Linked DNA regions of Homo sapiens: region 1 is linked to region 2. Evidence: promoter capture Hi-C in 16 types of primary human blood cells and fetal thymus (Javierre and others, 2016). All regions are on one chromosome and are shown on one strand. Each heading gives the region's core, a stretch centred on a gene start or on the middle of the fragment in contact. The rest is flanking DNA. Distances are from core to core; before and after follow the strand shown. Region 1 overlaps PAN2 (poly(A) specific ribonuclease subunit PAN2). Region 2 holds the start of DDIT3 (DNA damage inducible transcript 3).

Region 1 (4,574 bases), core at 2,075-4,574, 1.2 Mb before region 2:
TGGGGTCCACCTGGGCAATTTCCCATTCTAGTTCATCCACCAGAGCCCTGCATGCTGGTGGAAGAGGAGAGAATGAGAGCAGGGGACAGGGTAGGGGGTAGGGTGTGAGGAGAATGGGATCAACCCAGGATTTCCATTCATCCTTCTCCCAGGCCTTGGATCTCATGCCCTCCCAAGGCTCTGCTTCCTCCACTTCTTTTTCCCGTTGTGCCTTTACCTCCACAGTGGAGATCCTGGCTCCTCCGAGCCCAGGCGGTTCCCAGCAGGGCCCCCAGAAGCAGGGCCAGCCAACCCCAGCCTTTCATCTTTAGCGTAATGGGGTCGCTCCACCTGGGTTTGAGTGGGAATAAAACATAAGTGTGAGGAGCCGACTCCATTTTTCCCTGACCCCCCCAATCCTCACCCCAAGGCTTTCAAAGGCCTCATTGTGACTCTGGCTCTACTTTCCAGGAAATGGCCGGGACACAAAGGGGCTTCTCTGTTCCAGCGCTTGAGGGCTCTGATTCCCCCAGGGTGGTGGGTGGGAGCGCGAGCTCAGGACTTGCGGCTCAGCCCCAGACTCTACGTGGATAGGTGAGGCCCTAAGTGTTGGTACTTTAGCACTGCATGCCTAGGGTTCACGGGGCTTTGTGGCAGCTACAGGAGGTAAGTTGGCGATTACGTGAGGACTACAGGCACTAGGGAACTGCCGGCAGGGAGCCCTCAGTCAGGCCAGGAGGCCAGCGAGGAGAGCAATAACTAGGGCCCATTTGGATCCTGCACCGAAGATTCCTGCGTCCCCACCTCCAGCCCGTAAGTGATTACCCGTACGGACACCAGCCCCCTTTCTAAGGACTCCGCCATTGCTTTCGCTTCAGTCCATCCCCAACCCTCAGCGCCCAGCGCCTCGCCGCCCGCATCCGTCCCACCTCTGCTCCCAGGGCCGCCGCCGTGGCCCAAGCGCTGGAAGACCGCTGGACTCTCACTTTGGCCCCAGTGGCTCCCGAAACTACACCTGGCTGCAGGGAGCAGGGCTGTCCGGGATTCTCCAGAGCGCTTCGCCGCCTGCCACACACGGGGTGTCCCGGCGACCGCCTGACCCAGCTCCCCTGACGCTAACTGGTACCTAAGCGGGACTCCAGCGTGCTGCGGTGCGAGCCCCAATCAGACACCGACCCCAAACCCGCCCCTCCAAACTCTCGCGCGAACAGGCAGCTTAGGAGAGGCTCCCGAACAGCAAGGACCCCGGTCAATCGCCGAAGGACCCAGACTTGCGTGGCGAACAGATCCACGTGACCACCAGGGGTCAGCCGTAGAATAGGAGTGGCCTTAAGCGACGACAGAGTCCGGGCGTGCTGTATGGGAGCGGCTAGTCGTGCGCGTGAGCCAGCCCAGGTGGGCTAGGACCTTCAAAACGGTGCGCTGCCGGCCAGCGAGCAGTCCAGGTTTCAATACACAGGAAACTACATCTCCCAGGAAGCACCGCAGCACCGGACCCATCTTTGTGAGCAACTACAAGTCTCAAGCTATCCTGGGACCTGTAGTTTGTCGGCTTACACAATTAACGGAAACCATACTGTACATCTTCAGTCTGACTTAGGGTACTGGGCAGCTATAGCAAAGACCCAGCATTGCCCAGAAAAGGCATAAATTATACCTTTTTCCCCTTTTTTTGAGACGGAGTCTCGCCCTATCGCCCAGGCTGGCATACAGTGGCGTGATCTCGGCTCACTGCAACCTCCGCCTCCCGGGTTGAAGCAATTTTCTGCCTCAGCTAGGGTTACAGTCGCCATCCACCACTCCCAGCTAATTTTTGTATTTTTAGTAGAGACGGGGTTTCACCATCTTGGTCAGGCTGGTCTTTAACTCCTGACCTCGTGTTCCACCCACCTCTGCCTCCCAAAGTGCTAGGATTACAGAAGTGAGCCACCGCGCCCGGCCTAATTATACCCTTTCATATCCATAACTTTGGATTCCGGACCTTTACCTTCAAAGGAAGGAGAGGAAGACTGAAGCCAGAGAACCCACACTAGCAGTTCTCTAATGAGATAAATAACAAACGATATTTTATTTTTATTTTATAAAACATGCAGTTTACAACAAATTTTTAAAAAATGGAACAAAACTTGGGACAGGCAAGTGGGATGGAAGACAGATGCTTCTCAGCCATCAGCAGGAATAAATGAAGCCGGCAGCCAAGCTTTGTCCAGGATCCAAAGGCCCTTTTGGCAATGGTATTGGCAACACTGGTTTGCTTGGGCCACCAACACTCTACTTGCTGGCCCCTCCAGGTATCCCTGAAGCAGTTGGTGACTTGTGCTAAGTCTTGAACTACTGTGGTATCCTCTGTCACTGTCCAGGACTTCAATCCCTAGCCAGCTAGGAACTTACAGTTATGGTTCCAGGAGCTTCTCTGCCTGGATATTAGTCACCCAGGATATTAAGAATACCAATTACTTTCCATCTGGGTCAATTCTAGACTCCATGTCTGTACCACTGTTTTGCAAAGAATGAAGAAGGAATGAATCTGGCTCCTAGAACCTTTGCAACAATTCTGCTGTGTTCCAGTTCAATTAATAGCACCATCTGTGACCCTAGACCCTGAGCACGTCCAGTACTGGAAGTGGACAAGGTATAGCCAACTTAGGAAGCCATCTCCCAGTTCTGGGGCTATAGAACAGTAAAGGGAGAGGGCCGTGGTTCTTTGGGAAGGGTAGTCAGAGCGCCAGCACTGAGGAGAAGACAGCTGCATCTGTCAGAGACAAAACCAAAAGCATGATTCAAGCTGAGTGGAGAAAAAGCATCTTCTCATACTTCCTATGAAGGAAAAATGCAAGAGAAAAAAGGGCATGGACCTTCCCTGAACATTTTAGACTTGGGCAAGAGGAAGTTATAGTTAATGGAGAGTTTCGATAAAATGTATTTTACTGAATGTTAGGAGGATGAAGTGCTTTGTAAACTGTTAAGTGCTATTCTCCATATGTGCAATCAAAATCCACCCAATTGGGGGCGCTCAGGCTCATGCCTGTAATCCCAGCACTTTGTGAGCCCAAGGTGGGTGGATCGCTTGAGCCCAGGAGTTTAAGACCAGCCTGGGCAACATGGCAAAATCCTGTTTCTACAAAAAGTACAAAAATTAGCTGGGTGTGGTGGTGTGTGCCTGTTGTCCCAGGTACTTGGGAGGCTGAGGTGGGAGAATCACTTGAGCCCAGGAAGTCGAGGCTGCAGTGAGCTGTAATCACGCTACTGCACTTCAGCCTGGGTGACAGAGTGAGACCCTGTCACAAACAAACAAAATACAAAATCCACCCAGTCCAGTTTCCCTTGTCCCATCCCAGGTCTTACTCTTGGGACTTGTTTGGCCCTCAGGCTCAGGCACCTTCCAGTCCATCTTTCTGCCCTTCTCATAAAGACCCTTGAGCACCTTGTGGAAAGACTCAGGCTCAGTGCCATTTTTGCTTAGCTCCAGATACTTTCGGTACAGCTGAAGGGCTGTGCGGGCATCCTCAATACTGTCATGGGTTTCCCCTTGAATCTTCAGGTCTGGGGTAAGTAAAGGTGGAATAGTTTGGGACCCAGCAAAGGGAGGTAGGAACATGTCTCCCCACTCCTACCTGACTCCAGAAAACTAAAAAGCCTGACTGCCCTTAAGGAAAATTGTCAGACATCTTCCTCAGTGCACAGAAGGGATATTGAAGTTAATTAAATCCATTAGTAACTGTCACCACTAACTGAGGGTCTCCCCTACTCCCATTTTGTCCTCTAACACTTTTCCTACTTTTTCTTTTCCCCCCATGCTTTTATTTTTTATATTTAAATTTTATTTTAGATTTGGGGTACATGTGCATGTTTGTTACATGGGTGTATCGTGTACTGGTGGGGACTGGGCTTCTGGTATCCCTAATATGCAAATAGTGAACTATGCACCCAATACGTAATTTTCAACCCTCACCCCTCACCCACCACCCCAACTTTTAGAGTCCCTAATGTCATTCTTATGTCCATATGTACTCATTGTTTAGTTCCAACTTATAAGTGAGAATATGTGGTATTTGATTTTCTGTTTCTGAGTTAGTTCACTTAGTATGATGGCCCACAGCTCCATCCATGTTGCCGCAAAGAACATGATTTCTTTTTTTTTAAATGGCTGCTTCTGCTATTAATGTAGCAGGGGCCTACAAGGCAGAGCAACTCACCCAGAAAGTACCAAGCAAGGAATCGCAGGGAAATCATTCGTTTTCGGGGCATATGGAACAGGTAGACAGTGTCAAGGACTTGGTCCTTGGGCACCTGGCAAGGATAAAAGAGGGGGAGACTTAAGGTAGGGGACCTATAATTCCCCATTCTCTAAAGGCACAATGTATACCCTGAGGGGCCCACTCTCACAAGAAGACTCTTAAAAGAGCCCTGCCAAACCATCAGGTTGATGACCCGGAAGTCCTTCTGCAGGCCATGACCCACAAACTTGACTCCAATGTCAATGAGAAAACGAAGCTTTAAGTAGGTAGACTTGAGAGTTGTTAGGTGCTTGGAGGAAATTTTGGCATCGAGGTCACCAGGCTTTATACCCGAGTATTGAGTCAAGTAATCCACCA
Region 2 (4,929 bases), core at 564-3,063:
CCCAGGCTGGAAGGCAGTGGCGCAATCGGCTCACTGCAACCTCCGCCTGCTGGGTTCAAGCGATTCTCCTGCTTCAGCCTCCGGAGTAGCTGGGATTACAGGCATGCACTGCCATGCCCGGCTAATTTTTGTATTTTTAGTAAAGATGGGATTTCACCATGTTGGCCAGGCTGGTCTTGAACTCCTGACCTCAGGTGATCCACCCACCTCTGGTCTCCCAAAGTGCTGGGATTACAGGTGTGAGCCACCATGCCCGGCCCTTAACTCATTCTTTAAAAATGAGTTTTTAAAACCTTTGCTTAGAAGAATCTAAACACTTCTAATTCCATTGTTTCCAATCTAGATCAATTCACTACCATCTCTAAATTACTGCAGAAACTTTCTGACTGCAGAAGGTCTTCCCATTTCTTCTCTTGCCACCCCTCCGCAACTCTATTCACCATACAGCAGCCTGAGTGAGCCTTTTAAAACAGGTCATTCCTCTGCTCAAACCCTCCAATGACTTCCTATTTCATGTCATGGAAGTCACTGAAGGGTTTTGAGTGGAGGAATTACCTAAGGTAATTCCTGACCACCTGATGTAACACTCTGACCTCCATCCTGAACATTCTCCATTCCTTTCTCTGCTTTAGCTTTCTCCGTGGCACTTATATTTTGTTTACTGTAGGCCTCCCACTGAGATGATTTTTTCCTCTTGCTCAAGGATGTACCCTGAGCCCCAAACTGTGTGGCACACAGTAGGTCCTCATTAAGTATTTGTTAAGAATGAATGGATAAACTCCCCCCAGTCTCTCTTATAGGGAAGGGGCAGAAGCAGAGTGGCAGCTGCTGATCCCTAGGGGCTAGAGATGCAATATTGCCCGAAGTATTTCTCTGCAGGGCTGTCCTCCCTGGGGAACCCTCCCTTGCCTTCCAGTGTGTGGGACTTGGCTTTCATCAGCAGTAGAGCCTCAGGTCAGAAGGCTGCAGAGCCAAACGGGGCTGGCCTGATGCAATGGTTACACAGAGATTAGCTGGGAGACAGGACCGGGTTAAAGAGGCAGGGACTAATCCCGAGGGAAGGACAATACCCTGGGGAGACCCCAAATGGCCTCCTACACTTAAGAGATCCAGGCTGCTCTCTTGTGCAGGAGGCCCAGAGACCTCTACGGCAAAAGGAAAACACACCACTCCCTGTCCATCGGCACCCCTCCCAAAGGCTTGTGTCTCCTCAAGGTTCCCCTATCCGCTGCAGGGTCCAGTAGCCCCAGCTACCAAGGTGGCCATGCTGACACCAGAGGCACTGAGACTGAGACAGAATTGGGGGTGGGGTAGGGAGAAGGCCCGCTGGTGGCGAAGCGGCGGAAACGGCCTGAGCGATGGTCACCCAGTCTTAGAGCGGGGGTGTGTCCTGCTGACCTGCCTCCCCGCGGACAGGCCTAACGATGAGGCCTGAAGTTGGCTACGGGAAAGAATGAATTTCCCAAGGGCAACCGAGGTCCCTTTGCCCAGCAGCACAGAGCAGGGCCCGTGTTCCGGCTCCGGGCAGGGGTGGAGAGACGCCGTCGTCCGAAGCAATAGGGGTTTGTAAGCACCACCCCAGAATAAGGGACTCTCCCCATTCCTCTCTCGGACGGTCCCTAACTTCACTGTGGAGGAGTGAGGCCGATCCTAAAGAGCGGACGCCCCAACTTTGAGGAGACGGGAGGGTAAAAGGTAGATGGGAATCAGTACTCGCCTCTCTCCTCAGGTTCCAGCTCTGATTTTGGCTCTGTCGCTGCCACCCGCTCATCTTTAACATGATACGCTCAGTGCCTTAGACTTAAGTCTCTGACCTCGGGAGCGCCTGGCTGTAATCTTTTACCATGGCCTTGCCCTCCTCTCAGGGGCGGGACCCCAAAACCTACCAATCAGAAAGTGGCACGCCGGCATTGGCCCCGCCCCGTCCCTCGCATCCGCCACTCAGGAGCCCCGCGGCACCGCCCCCGTCGCTCCCTCTCGCTAGGGGGTCGACGTAGTGTCGGACCCGGAAGTGGCTTTGGGTCACGAGGCTTCACGGAGGAGGTGGGTGAGTCATGCGCGCGCGCGGAGGGGAGTGTAGCGGGGGGGGAGGGGAGGAAAGGGGGGCGGGGATGATGCAATGTTTGGCAACCGGTGTCTGCACGCGCACGCGCAGGGGACACCGAGGGTGGTGGGAGGTGCGGAGGGTGGGGGAGAGGAGAGAGGGCGGGGCGCCAGCTCCCGGCGCCCAACGGCCCCAACGGCTATCAGCCTTGGTCGCCCCTAGTCGGTCGTGAGCCTCTTTGCCGCTTGTCTCCCCCAGAAGCTGCTGTTCCGCCCACCTAGCTTTACCCGCCGTTTTACCCCCACTATAAGGGACTCCCATATTTCTTGGCCCCTCCCAGCTAATGGGCACATAGGCCTTTTGAACTTTTCTTTTTAAAGTTGGTATCCATCCACTGGGATTGTCGACATCTCGAGTCTTCTTAAAGAGGTCTCCTGGCCGGGCTCAGTGGCTTACGCCTGTAATCCCAGCACTTTGGGAGGCTGAGGAGAGCGGATCACTTGAGGTCAGGAGTTCGAGATCAGCCTGACCAACATGGTGAAACCCCGTCTCTACTAAAAATACAAAAATTAGCCGGGTGTGGTGATGCGCGCCTGTAATCCCAGCTACTCTGGAGGCAGAGGCAGAAGAATCGCTTGAACCCTGGAGGCGGATGTTGCAGTGACCGAGATCGCGCCACTGCACTCCAGCCTGGGTGACAGAGCGAGACTACGTTTCACCAAAAACAAAAAACAAAACAAACAAACAAAAAAACGGGGGTGGTCTCCTGTTCTAGCCCCGTAAATCTCCCAAAAGGGGCCGAGGTACTGGAATCCCTTGGTAGTCATTTTCCGCTTCTCTCAGAACAGCGCCCTTGACTTTTACCTTGTAGTTGGTAAGCCCTCAGCCTGCCAGAAGTCATGTATTTTGCCCAGTGGACCCGATTCTGTTTGGCCACCTATTTTCCCCCACGGTACTCCTATGGCTTTCTCCAAGACCCTCTCTTGCTGTACCAGACAGCAAGTCCTGTGACTCCCTGTGTGAGGAGCGCGGCACAGGCCTGCCTCCTAGGTGTTCGGGTCGAGATTTACAGCGGAGTCTCATCCCGGGACGTGTGAGTGCACTTCAGCGCAGGACTGCCCTGGACTGGGGAGACCGGAGCCGCGATTTTAGACTCAACTCCCCATCACTTGCCAAGGGATCTTACCGTCCTTGTTTGTAAATTAAAGATAAAAGTTGTGAAGGTAAAATGAGAACCATGAACTTGGAGGCAACTTGACCAAAAGTAAAACGCACCACCCAGAATGCAAAGTATTTTTCTTGTGCCTTGAAAACAGAGGCCATGTGGTGGCCTGTTACATATCCTGTCATACCCTCATGGGGGCAGCCAGAGTTTAAGTAGAAACTGTCACAAGGCCGGTTGTGACTGGAGTGGTGTGGCAATGACAGGTCTTTGGTTAGGCTGCTCCGCTGCTCCACACCTCCATTTCCTCTCTGAAAATGGGGGTAGTGTGGAGGGTGGACCAGATGGTCTCCCCTGGCCTAAAGACAGACCAGGTTGTCAGTGACAGGCAGAGGTCATGTGACTTGACAGGCTGAGGTCGTGTTGTGACATGTTGACCTGGGGAGGCGGGTCAAGTCCCAGCACACTACCCGGGAAGCCTTTGGGGCGGGGCAGGGCAAGTCGCGACTTTCATCTTTCGGGGCCTGGCCCCTCCCGGACCTGGCATTCCTGGTTCCCGCAACAGACTGTGGCTTTGGAAGGGGCCCCTCCCTGAGGAGGGCTGGGATTGGCCACCAGTGGCCTGGGAAGAGGCGCAGATCCTTCCGCGGAGGGCGGGGGGGCCGCGTGGGGTGTTTGTTCTCTTGGGGATTAATGGGGGGTTGTGGGGGAGGGGTAGGCGCGCTCCCGCATGCGCACTGCAGCCCCTCCAGTTGGCTCGTCGCTGTCCGCTGGGCGGGGGCCCGGCCCCGCCCCTCTCCCGTCCGGGCAGCGGCGGAGGCGGCGGCTCCTGCGGCGGCGGCTGCGGCAGCGACGGCGGCGGCGGCAGCGGCAGCAGCCTGCGCAGTGCCTTCTGGGAACGGAATCCCCAGGGCTGCCCCTGGCCCCCATGGCGCATGCGCGGGAGGCCGCTCGGTGATCCGCGGCGGCGGCAGCGGCGCTTCCTGCTAGGACCGGCCGGGGCCGTACCGGAGGCTCGGGCTCCACCGACCCTCCTCCCACCCCCTCCCACTCACCCTCTGGGCCGCGACTGCGCAGGGCGGGGCCGGCCGAACCATGGGCCGCGGTGAGTGCGGGGCCCGGCCCCCCCCACCCTGCCCCTCCCCCTCCCGTCCCTACCCTCTGCCCCCTCCGCGTCCTCTCGGCCCCTTTCCCCGGCCCCATCCCCACTCCCCCGCCCTCACCTGCCCCCGCCGCTTCTCCCTCTCACTGCCAGACTTCTGCCTTCCTCACCGCCCTCCCCTCAGTGCTTCGCCCACCCTCCGCCCGCCCTCTCCCCAAGTTCCTTCCTACTTCGTGCGCCTTCCCCTCCTCCTCAAGCTGAGGGAAGCAGTCTGGGTGACAGGGCGCCTTGTTGTGAGAGGGAAAGTTTGGAAGCCGCCAGTGTGGGGTGGGAGCAATGGTGAGGCTGGGGAGGATACCTGCAGGTTGGAGGGGCTTCCCCTTCTATCGGAGGACAGGCTCTCTTGGAGATAATCGGAAGCCAGTGGAATAGGAGGTTCTGAATCCCTTTGCCGTAGGCTTGAGGGAAAATCAGGAGCTTCCCAGGATCCTGGGAGAAGACTGAGCTGTGATCCTCACCTCTTAAGACCCGAATGAACTATATCAGCGATTGTCTGATGGAGCAGGCATGGGGGGAGTTCTGCTGGTACCACCCCAGCGGGCAGTTGGGCAATTGCCTGGT

Evidence for each region. The method cuts DNA at HindIII sites, captures the fragments that hold promoters and counts their contacts. A CHiCAGO score of 5 or more calls a contact.
Region 1: a contact is called between a fragment that was not itself captured here and the fragment with the promoter of DDIT3 in region 2, in 1 of 17 cell types (monocytes). The highest score is 5.4, in monocytes.

Annotation. Positions count from the first base shown.
Region 1 is chr12:56,314,913-56,319,486 of GRCh38, forward strand. PAN2 (poly(A) specific ribonuclease subunit PAN2) reads right to left here. Exons shown (of 26, transcript NM_014871.6): 23 at 4,396-4,574; 24 at 4,176-4,269; 25 at 3,325-3,522; 26 at 2,024-2,731. The coding sequence ends at 2,697. CNPY2 (canopy FGF signaling regulator 2) reads right to left here and starts at 1,076. Exons shown (of 6, transcript NM_014255.7): 1 at 909-1,076; 2 at 218-330; 3 at 1-54. The coding sequence starts at 305. RefSeq lists enhancers at 1,061-1,649, 1,150-1,199, 1,280-1,429. The HindIII fragment of the contact is 2,294 bases long and covers 2,178-4,471 here.
Region 2 is chr12:57,518,701-57,523,629 of GRCh38, forward strand. DDIT3 (DNA damage inducible transcript 3) reads right to left here and starts at 1,814. Exons shown (of 4, transcript NM_004083.6): 1 at 1,718-1,814. LOC128125814 reads right to left here and starts at 1,780. Exons shown (of 2, transcript NM_001414991.1): 1 at 1,718-1,780. The coding sequence starts at 1,780. It overlaps MBD6 (methyl-CpG binding domain protein 6), which reads left to right and starts at 4,124. Exons shown (of 13, transcript NM_052897.4): 1 at 4,124-4,311. It overlaps MIR616 (microRNA 616), which reads right to left and starts at 559; the gene lies at 463-559. RefSeq lists enhancers at 650-1,611, 1,582-1,711, 1,586-2,785, 1,612-2,571, 2,572-3,532 and 4 more and silencers at 1,782-2,241, 3,956-4,355. The HindIII fragment of the contact is 9,909 bases long and covers 1-4,929 here.